3 separate regions of the Homo sapiens genome follow, and regions 1 and 2 are each linked to region 3. The links are contacts of gene promoters, found by promoter capture Hi-C in human tissues and cell types (Jung and others, 2019). All regions are on one chromosome and are shown on one strand. The core of a region is centred on a gene start or on the middle of the fragment in contact, and the rest is flanking DNA. Distances in the headings are between cores, read along the strand shown. Region 1 overlaps TMOD3 (tropomodulin 3). Region 2 has its middle 5.6 kb from the start of TMOD3. Region 3 holds the start of SCG3 (secretogranin III).

What was found. The method cuts DNA at HindIII sites, captures the fragments that hold promoters and counts their contacts. A contact is called where the count stands out against the background at its distance.
Region 1: a contact is called between a fragment that was not itself captured here and the fragment with the promoter of SCG3 in region 3, in 1 of the 25 tissues and cell types used here (liver).
Region 2: a fragment that was not itself captured here is called in contact with the fragment with the promoter of SCG3 in region 3 in 4 of the 25 tissues and cell types used here (H1 embryonic stem cells, dorsolateral prefrontal cortex, mesenchymal stem cells and 1 more).

What each region holds. Positions count from the first base shown.
Region 1 is chr15:51,896,246-51,899,777 of GRCh38, forward strand. It overlaps TMOD3 (tropomodulin 3), which reads left to right. Exons shown (of 10, transcript NM_014547.5): 7 at 174-281. Among named protein-coding and RNA genes, the nearest start is that of TMOD3, 68 kb to the left of the region's middle. The HindIII fragment of the contact is 5,912 bases long and covers 1-3,532 here.
Region 2 is chr15:51,822,312-51,825,821 of GRCh38, forward strand. No RefSeq gene overlaps it. Among named protein-coding and RNA genes, the nearest start is that of TMOD3, 5.6 kb to the right of the region's middle. The HindIII fragment of the contact is 5,527 bases long and covers 1-3,510 here.
Region 3 is chr15:51,679,539-51,682,770 of GRCh38, forward strand. It overlaps SCG3 (secretogranin III), which reads left to right and starts at 1,965. Exons shown (of 12, transcript NM_013243.4): 1 at 1,965-2,299; 2 at 2,979-3,031. The coding sequence starts at 2,218. The HindIII fragment of the contact is 9,018 bases long and covers 1-3,232 here.

The sequences.
Region 1 (3,532 bases), core at 621-3,120, 220 kb after region 3:
CAGATAATTATGGAGGAAGCTGCATTATTTGTATTCATTTGTAGACTAATTCTTAGGTGTTTGTATAATTTCTGAATACATTTTAAAGCAAAAAAAACCATATATTTGATTAATGGAAACTAAATATAATGAAAATTGAAATGTAATGATGTTTTATGTTATTGTCTTTCAAGAATATCCCAATTCCAACCCTAAAAGATTTTGCAAAGGCTTTGGAAACCAACACACATGTGAAATGTTTCAGTCTTGCAGCCACCCGGAGCAATGACCCTGTTGCTACTGTAAGTAAGCGACTTGAGAATATCAAAATTATGACATGCCCAGGGTGTGTTACAGTGGTGATTTTTATGAACAAGATTTACCCCTTTTTTATAGTTAATGTTTTAGCTCACTATTAGGCAGTATATTACTTACCAGCTTTTTGTGTTTATTTTTTCCTGTATTTCCTTCCTATGAATTTTTTCCCCCTCCCAGCTTCCCCCTCCTTCCTATGAATTTTTTAAAACATAAATGGAATCATGTAGTATATGCTGTTCTGCAACTTGATTTTTCACTCTGCAGTTTATCTTTAAAGTTTTGTTGTATCAATACATAGGGATCTACCACATTATTTTAACATCTTCAGAGGATTCCATTTATGGATCCTTAGTGGTGGATTTTTGTTAAATGCTTTTGCTGTGTCTCTTGAGATGTTCATATGGTTTTTGTCCTTTATTCTGTCAATGTGGTGTATTGATTGACTTTTATATGTTGAACCAGCCTTTCATTCCTGAGATAAATCCCACTTGATCATGGTATAAACCTTTTGTTTCATTGGCTTTGAGAATATCACTCACTCCCTTGGGGGCTCCCCTTACCTCAGTGGACATTCCTTCTCAAAGCCCTGTACTGGTTTCTCCATATCTCTTCAACTTCTAAATATTGGAATGGCCCAGAACGTGGTCCTTCTTTTCTCAGTCTACACTGACTTTCTGGGTAATCTCAGAAATATATATATTATCTTCATATACTTGCTGATGACTCCCAGTGTTATTATCTACAGTTTGTATCTCTCTCCTGAACTCCGTATTCATGTCCAGCTACCTCCTCAGCAGCTTTACTTGGATGTCTAATGGACATCTTACATGTAAGTCCTCAAACTCCTGACTTCCATCCTGTGCCTGCTTTTCTCTGCTGTTTTCTATCTTACTAAATGCAATTTCAATCTTTCATTGCTCAGGCAAACAAAAAAAAAAAATTTTTTTTTTTTTTTTTTTTGAGACAGCGTCTCACTCTGTTGCCCCGGCTAGAGTGCAGTGGCGCAATCTCGGCTCACTGCAACCTCCGCCTCCCGGGTTCAAGCGATTCTCCTGCCTCAGCCTCCTGAGTAGCTGGGATTACAGGCATGCGCCACCACGCCTGGCTAATTTTTGTATTTATAGTAGAGATGTGGTTTCACCATATTGGCCAGGCTGGTCTCGAGCTCCTGACCTTGTGATCCGCCCACCTCAACCTCCCAAAGTGCTAGGATTACAGGCGTGAGCCACCACGCCCAGCAAAAAAAAAAAAAAAAACAAAAAACTAATGGAATCATTCTCGACATCCCTTTCTTGCAACTTAAACCTACCTTTGGCCCTATCTTCAAAATATTTCAGAATCCAACCACTTCTCACCATTTTCACAACTACCACCTTGACCCAAGCCACCATCTTTTCCCACCTGGATTATTGCAACAGCCTCCTAATTGGGTTACCTTCATCTATTTTACCTACCCCAAAGTCAGTTCTTTACATAGCACCAAGAGTGATTCTTTTAAAACTTAAGTTAAATGACCTCATTCCTATTCGGATAACCCTCTAGCAGCTTCCCATCTCATTAAGAGTAAAAATAAAAATCTTTCAGTGGCCTTATAAGGCTTCACATGAGTGGACTTCATCTCATTTACTTGCCCTTTCTTTCATTCTACTCTAGCCATACAGCCTTCTTCAGCATGCCATGTGGACTCCCAAATCAGGGCCTGTACATTTGTTCCTTCTGCCTTGAACTTTCTTCCTAAAATAATCCACTTAGCTTTGTCTTATCACTTTGACTCTTTGCTCAAATGTCACCTTCTAGTTGAGGCTTTTCCTGACCGTGCTATATAAAATACCAACCCCATTCCCACCCCCAGTATTCCCCATCTACCCTATTGTGCCTTTTTTCTTTTTACCCTCTAACATTGCACTTTGCTTACTTTTATTATCTGTGTCCCTCCCCAGCTAGAATGAACATTCTGCCAGGCAGGGACCAATGTGTTTTATCTCTGAATCTCTAGGACAGTGCTAATCAAATAATAGACCATCAGTAATATTCGAATACATGTATGGATAAGGGATTTGTTCCAGGTCACATAGCTAGTTGTTGCTAATAGAAAGGACAAGTATGTAGATACCAGCCACAGTTTTTTTAGTATCTCTACGCCCTATTGCCTTTCCTTTAACTTTAAGCTTGGTCTTACCCATATTTTCTGTAGTTTAACCTTGCTTTTGATCCCTCTAAGGGGCTGTTTTATATAAACTCATGATCATTGTTCTTTTTTCTCTCTCTTTCCTTCCCCTCCTTCCTTCCCTTCTTCTCTCTTCCTACCTCTGTCTCTTTTTCTTTCCTTCCCAGTCTCCCTCCTCTTTCTTTTTTCACTTGTAGGCTTCTGTTAATTAATCAATATGGTACTTATTAAGCACTGAGTCAAATGTCTAACACTGTACTGTATCCTATGAGAAATGAAATAGAAGCAGATTGAAGACATACCATTACTTGAGGAATTTAATATTTTATTAGCCCCTTCTTCTCAATGGCCTTTGTGCTCTTCTGGTTCTGGTTATCTGTGTTCTTTTCTGGCCTTCTGCCTTGACCATTTCTTTTGGCCCCTGCCTTGGAAATTAGTACATAATTTACCCTCATTTTGGCTTCACATGATCCAGCTACAGCAAGACCCAAATAAGAAAAGATGTTACAGCGACATTGATGAAGTTGGTCTAACACAGAAACTGAAAGAGTGAGAGAGACAGAAGAAAGAAGCATGAAGTAGGGAATGAGGAGTAGAGAATGTCACCAACGGGGAATTACATGTGACCAAAAAATCAAAAGATTATGACTGGGTACATATGAAAAATAGGTACAGGCCAGGTGTAGTGGCTCACACCTGTAATCCCAGCACTTGGGGAAGCCGAGGTGGGTGGATTGCTTGAGCCCAGGAGTTTGAGACCAGCCTGGGCAACATGGTGAAACCCCATCTCTACAAAAAATACAAAAATTAGCCGGGCATGGTGGCACACAACTGTAGTCTCAGCTACTCAGGAAGCTGAGGTGGGAAGATCAATTGAGCCCAGGAGGCAGAGGTTGCAGTGAGCTGTGATCCTGCCACTGCACTCCAGCCTGGGTGACAGGGCAAGACCCTGTCTCAAAAAAAAAAAAAAGAAAGAAAAGTAGATACAGTCATCCATGGGTTCAACCAACTTCAGATCAAAAATATTTGGAAAAAAATTCTATGAATTTCCAAAAGCAAAATCTGAAT
Region 2 (3,510 bases), core at 508-3,007, 140 kb after region 3:
CTCAACATAATAGAAACCATATGTGACAGACCCACAGATAGTTTCATACTGAATGGGAAAAAATTAACTCTTTCCTCTAAGATCTGGAACAAGACAAGGATGCCCACTTTCACCACTGTTATTCAACATAATACTGGAAGTTCTAGCTAGAGCAATCAGACAAGAGAAATAAATAAAGAGCATCCAAATTAGAATAGAAGAAATCAAATTATCCTAGTTTGCAGATGACATAATCTTACATTTGGAAACACCTAAAGATGCCATCAAACAACTATTAGAACTGATTAAAAAAATTCCGTAAAGTTGCAGGAAACAAAGTCGACATATAAAAATCAGTAGCATTTCTATATGCCAACAATGAACAACCTGAAAAAGAAATTTAAAAAGTAATCCCCTGATGGTGCTTTTCATGTTCTAGTAATGCACACATTTTGGCCCAGCCTCCTGATACCACAAGTTTCTTTTATGTACTTAGGCTCACTTATGGATGCATCACTTTAAAAGCCAGGAATTTAGGAAAGGTTCATAACATTTTTATAGAACCTTAAGCTTTTTGAAGGGTAAACACTTGTAAAACTTCTCTAAAGAACTGGTTGGGTGCGATGGCTCAAACATGTAATCCTAGCACTTTGGGAGGTCATGGTGGGTGGGTCACTTGAAGTCAGTAGTTTGAGATCAGCCTGACCAACATGGTGAAACCCTGTGTCTACTAAAAATACAAAAAAATTAGCTGGGTGTGGTGGTGCACGCCTGAAGTCCCAGCTACTCGGGAGGCTGAGGCAGGAGAATCACTTGAACCCGGGAGGCAGAGGTTGCAGTGAGCCAAGGTCGCACCACTGCACTCCAGCCTGGGCAACAGAGCGAGATTTCATCTAAAAACAAACAAACAAACAAACAAATTAAAAACTTAAGGAGGATAAAAATGAAGACAGTTTAGTTAATGGGTACAAAAATACACTTGGAATAAGTTTTAGTGGTTCAACAGCACAGTAGGGTGACTGTAGTTGTCAATAATGTATTGCATATTTCAAAATAGCTGGAAGATTTGAAATGTTCTCAACACAAAGAAATAATCAATGTTTGAGATGATGACCAATTACCCTGGTTTGATTATTACACATTGTATCATGTAGCAAAATATCACATGTACTCCCATGCATATGTACAATTATAATGTATCAATAAGAATTTAGTAAAAGACAAAAAGAAACAATTATTTAAGACTTTTAAGCAAATAGGAAAATAAGCTGACAATCACTACAAATATCAAGAAGGAATCCATTGGCTAGATAACCTAGAAAAAACAATACATTGTTTTCAAGCCAATAAATGTTTATAAAAAATTCAAATAATACAAGGAGGCCAGGCGCGGTGGCTCACACCTGTAATCCCAGCACTTTGGGAGGCCGAGGTTGGAGGATCACTTGAGGTCAGGAGTTTAAGATCAGCCTGGCCAACATGGCAAAACCCTGTCTCTACTAAAAATACAAAAATAAGTCAGGTGTGGTGGTGCACGTCTGTAGTCCCAGCTACTCAGGAGGCTGAGGCAGGAGAATCGCTTGAACCCAGGAGGTGGAGGTTGCAGTGAGCCAAGATCGTGCCATTGCACTCCAGCCTGGGCGACAGAGTGAGACTCTGTCTCAAAAACAAATAATAATAATAAATAAAAATAAATAAAGACAAGGAAAAGTAAGCAGAAGTTAAATCATATCACAACTCTGGTCTTGGTAGAAGGGTTTGGGGCATCTAGCATTTATCATTTAAAGACCTGAATTTAATTCTTATTTAATTCCATTTATGACAGGGATCATATTCATTCACTCACCTGAGCTGAAATTTGGCTTTCTGCAGTGACTGTAGGAGAGTCTAACAATGGACAGCACTGGGAATTTATTGCTTCTATAGTAAATGTTAAACTGAACAGTTTTAGCACTAACATTTTTAATATTATTAAAATAGTATTAAAATTTGGGGATAATATTTTAGGTTTATGTGCATATCCCAGAAGTTTATTCTTTAATAGTGATGTTTGTCATCAACTTTGGCTTCAGCTGAAGAGTGACTTATTTTTTGGCCCTTTTGGCATTTGGCTGAAATGTGTATTCAGTGCACTTCTAATGGAGGCATAATGGGGTATGAAAATATGGGAAAGGCAAAATTAATTCCAGCTGATGGCATTAGTGAAGGTTGAGTGGGGAACAGACATTTGAGATGGACAATGAAACATGAGGAGGCTTCTAACAGGCAGAGATGGGTTATAGAAAAAGGGGCACTTGAGGCCAAAAAGTGTGCTTGAATCTTTCCTGTAAAACTGTATGCACACAGGCGTGGTGGCTCATGCCTGTAATCCCAGCACTTTGGGAGGTCAAGGAAGGCAGATCACCTGAGGTCACGAGTTTGAGACCAGCCTGGCCAACATGGTGAAACCCCGTCTCTACTAAAAATACAAAAATTAGCCAGGCATGGTTGTGCACACCTGGAATCCCAGCTACTTGGGAGGCTGAGGCAGGAGAATGGTGTGAACCCGGGAGGTGGAGCTTGCAGTGAGCCAAGATCACGCCACTGCACTCCAGCCTGGGTGACAGAGAGAGACTCCATCTCAAAAAAAAAAAAAAAAAAAAAACCGGTATGTACCCAGCCATGATGTTTGTCTTCTGTGATTGCTACCTCCCACTGCTTCCATAGGATTCCTACCTCCAAGCTTCCATAATGAAATCCTTCCCTTTTCATTTCAAATTTTTGTCTTTAGTTTTTCTCAGCTCTCCTATAAATACACGTTTTTACATACACACAAAATATGCTTACATATACCAAAGTAACTATTTCCTAAAGGAACTCTTTGATAACAAGAAAAGTGCTGCTGTTATTAATTAGCATACGATGATTCAGTGTGACATGCTTTCTGAGTTATTCTGGCTGGAAGTTTAGAGATAACACTAATTAGAGCTTGTAATATTAACACATAAAGTAGAGTTGAAGTGTCATTTTATCAATCACTTTCACTCTAACCAAACCCTGAACACTAATGGGAACCATACTCTGTCCCTTGTTCAAATATTTTACCTGAAGGCCTCAGATTTGTTCTCTGTAGTGTGTTAGCCTGTTGAACTTCAACAGTTTTCCATTACTTGAAGTGGGTTAAATGCAGACGGTTGGGGGTGCCATACCACTTCTAGTTCAGATCATCATGTTTCTTTGATTAGGCACTATAGTAGTCAGCTTTTGCTAAGTAAGTCTATAGTAACAAACGAACCTAAACCTCAGTTTCCCCTTCGCTCACATTATATATTATGTCAGCTAGTGGCTGAGGCTCTGATCCATGTAATTTCTTATTCTAGAACCCAGGCAGAAGGACCAGCCTCTATTCAGAACTTGTCTCTCTTGGTGGAGGGAAAGAGCAGGCACACTAGTAGAGAAAGGCAGTGACTCTTAAAGCTTCCACCCAGAACTGTCGGATTGTCCCTTCCACTTATATTTTATTGACCAAAGCAAGATTCATGTTTCTAAACT
Region 3 (3,232 bases), core at 715-3,214:
CCTGGTACATTTCAGATGCTCAATAAACACCTGTTAAGTGAATTGATGAATAAATACAATTTAGGATTACTCCATTCACAGACCTATACTAAGTCCAGTGGTATCATCCATAAGGCTGAATAATGTAAACTAATTCATGCCTATGTTTTACTCAATGCTCCACCACTCATTTGATCAGAAACATAACATGATCCTAGATTTAGTGTCCATTTAACATAATCACTTTAAGTCCAAATGGCAGAAAGAGACAAAATACCCTTTTTCTTTTGGGCAAGCAATGCAATGTACTCAACAGACATCCCTGACCTTCATCCCATCCTGAATCTCTCCCAATTGCAAACATGTATTGAGGAGATAAATGAGTCAGGAATGGGACAAAGGACAAAGTGAAGCTGAGGGATTAGGTCAGTGAGTCTCAGGATCAGTGAATGGCTATTTCAGATAGCGTTGGGTAATGTTTCATAAAAGCTGAAAACGTTTCATGACTTATTTTCTTAGGCTGTATCAAAATATTCTTGGTATCAAAATGACTAGTTCAAAACATGTACCCATTTGATCTTCATAATAACAGTGTGAGGTAAACAGAGCCTGTCATTTCCATCATAAAGAAAAGGAAACTAAGGAAATATACCCTTCATTCAGCTGGGATTTTAAAATATGACTTAATTTTTTAATGCAGTATACTGGGATAATAATGCTATGTTATTACTGCCAATAAAGAGTTTTTTGTTTTGAAGGAGCTGTTAGATTTAGAATACTCTTTAGATCCTCAAAGGAAGTATTTGAGTGACTTCCAAACTCAAAAACCTCCGGAGCAAGGGAGATTTGTTTGTCAGCTTGGTTGTTTGTTTGTTTTTAGGTACTTGAATAACTTCCTCCTTGAAAAGGAGGGTGCAGAAATCAAAGGCCTGATTGTGCTGAATCCTTCTCTTTGGTCATTATTCAGACTGGTTCCCAGCATGCCGCAGTCCAGAGGAAAAGGTCCAAGTTCTGTTTAAAAATCAGAGACTAAAGAGCTTACTCAGCATCCTGCTCACATTAATGTTGCTTGTTTTCATCATTTAAAGTCTTTTGATAGTTCCTTGTATACAATAACCTTAGGCTTCTGGGAATATTCTCAGAACATAGGAAGCACCTCCCTGACTTAGTAAAGATGAAAAATGCTTTTCATGACTATCCCCTCTCTTGAAGGACCCCCTGGAACAGCCAGGTCTTTGGGCATAATTAAATTCTGGGCAAGATTTTACAGAAATGCAGCTTCTTTTTTCTAATTTAGTTGTGTGGTGTGTGTGTGTAAAGTGGGGGAGGTTCCACTTGGTGGGGAAAGGAGAATTTGCCATTGCTGCTCGTCTACTCAGGACTGTTTCTGTTGTTGTTGTGTTTCAGCATCAGAGAGTGAGAGTGTATTGCAGCAATCTGACTATTTGGAAGACTGTTCCTTGAATTTCCCAATTCAAAAGCCTCGGTAGAGCTGAGGGATGCTTGATACGTCAACACAGACCACAAAAGGCAGGGCTTTTCTAAAGAGATTATAATTATATCTACCTTTTGGGTACAGGAGGTGAATGGAAGGAAGGGATTCTGGAGCAGATATCCCAAAAGAAGAATCCCGAAGCAGAACTCCTCGCACAAGGTTATCTAAATCTCCTTGACAGGTGCACAGGCAGAGAAGGCATTTGGCCCTTGAAGTAACATTTACTTGAGAGGTTGGGACAATTCTGTCACGCTTAGGACAAGCCAGCTGACCCTGAGCCCAGGAGCACCCTAGGACTGCAGCACAGAAAATACACCAGCTGGCCGGTCGCCCCTCCTTTGTTCCATTCCCGGGGGATTGGAGTAGCGTTGGAGTCACCGACGCCATCCCCTCCCGCCTCTGGCGTGCATGGAGCATGCGCTTCCTTCCTCACTTCCTCTGCAGGAGGGAGCGAGAGTAAAGCTACGCCCTGGCGCGCAGTCTCCGCGTCACAGGAACTTCAGCACCCACAGGGCGGACAGCGCTCCCCTCTACCTGGAGACTTGACTCCCGCGCGCCCCAACCCTGCTTATCCCTTGACCGTCGAGTGTCAGAGATCCTGCAGCCGCCCAGTCCCGGCCCCTCTCCCGCCCCACACCCACCCTCCTGGCTCTTCCTGTTTTTACTCCTCCTTTTCATTCATAACAAAAGCTACAGCTCCAGGAGCCCAGCGCCGGGCTGTGACCCAAGCCGAGCGTGGAAGAATGGGGTTCCTCGGGACCGGCACTTGGATTCTGGTGTTAGTGCTCCCGATTCAAGCTTTCCCCAAACCTGGAGGAAGCCAAGGTATGTGAACACTTTTCTTCTTCCTACCTTCCTTTTATTTCGCCACGAAAAGGTAAAGTTTGGCATAATACGTGAGCTGTAAATCACCCTGACGCGTTTTCTGATCAAATCATATCCATGAATACGGACAGAGAAATCAGTTCGAATTTAGAGACAGAAGACAGATTTTTTTTCTTCACTTTTAAAATGATAGAGCAATAATATGGGTTGTTTTTAAAGATCTTATTTTGAAAAGGGAAGGGAACCTTTTTCACCTAAAGTGGCTTGGATTGTTTTCTAGTTGCCTTACAACCTTTCTCAGACAGTCTATTCATTATATATGCAGTATATGATGAAAGAGCTTTTAGTGTGCCAATAATACCAATCCAAATTATGCTCTCTCTAGCTGAGAATAGCTGATAACCCTAGTGTTAGAACTATATGTTAAATTTCTGGTCAGAAAAAAAAAAAAGTGTGATTCTGTCAGCTCAAGAAATACACCAAGATAATAAACAAGGCAATATTGATAATTACTATTATTGTATAATCTTGATAATCTTTGTTAATATGCATTTGTTTCATAGTCATCCAAAATTATTTCTCCTAATATTTTTCCTTTTTATAAAAATTTTATTTAATAAGAGGCATATTTTGTCCTTCAACGCACAATTAAATTTATATTCACATGTGTTTATTCTAGACAAATCTCTACATAATAGAGAATTAAGTGCAGAAAGACCTTTGAATGAACAGGTAGGTCAAAAGTAACATTATGAATGCTATTTCATTTTGATTTAGTTATTATTATTTAATGTAATTATGCTGTGACATTTTGGTCATTTTGAATTTACAAACATCAGGAACTTAATAGTTAATTGACAGAAATTAGGACGGGAAATCTAGTTTTGGTAAATTCTATGCCCTAGCAGTTATTTACATTGAGTTCTGTATAAT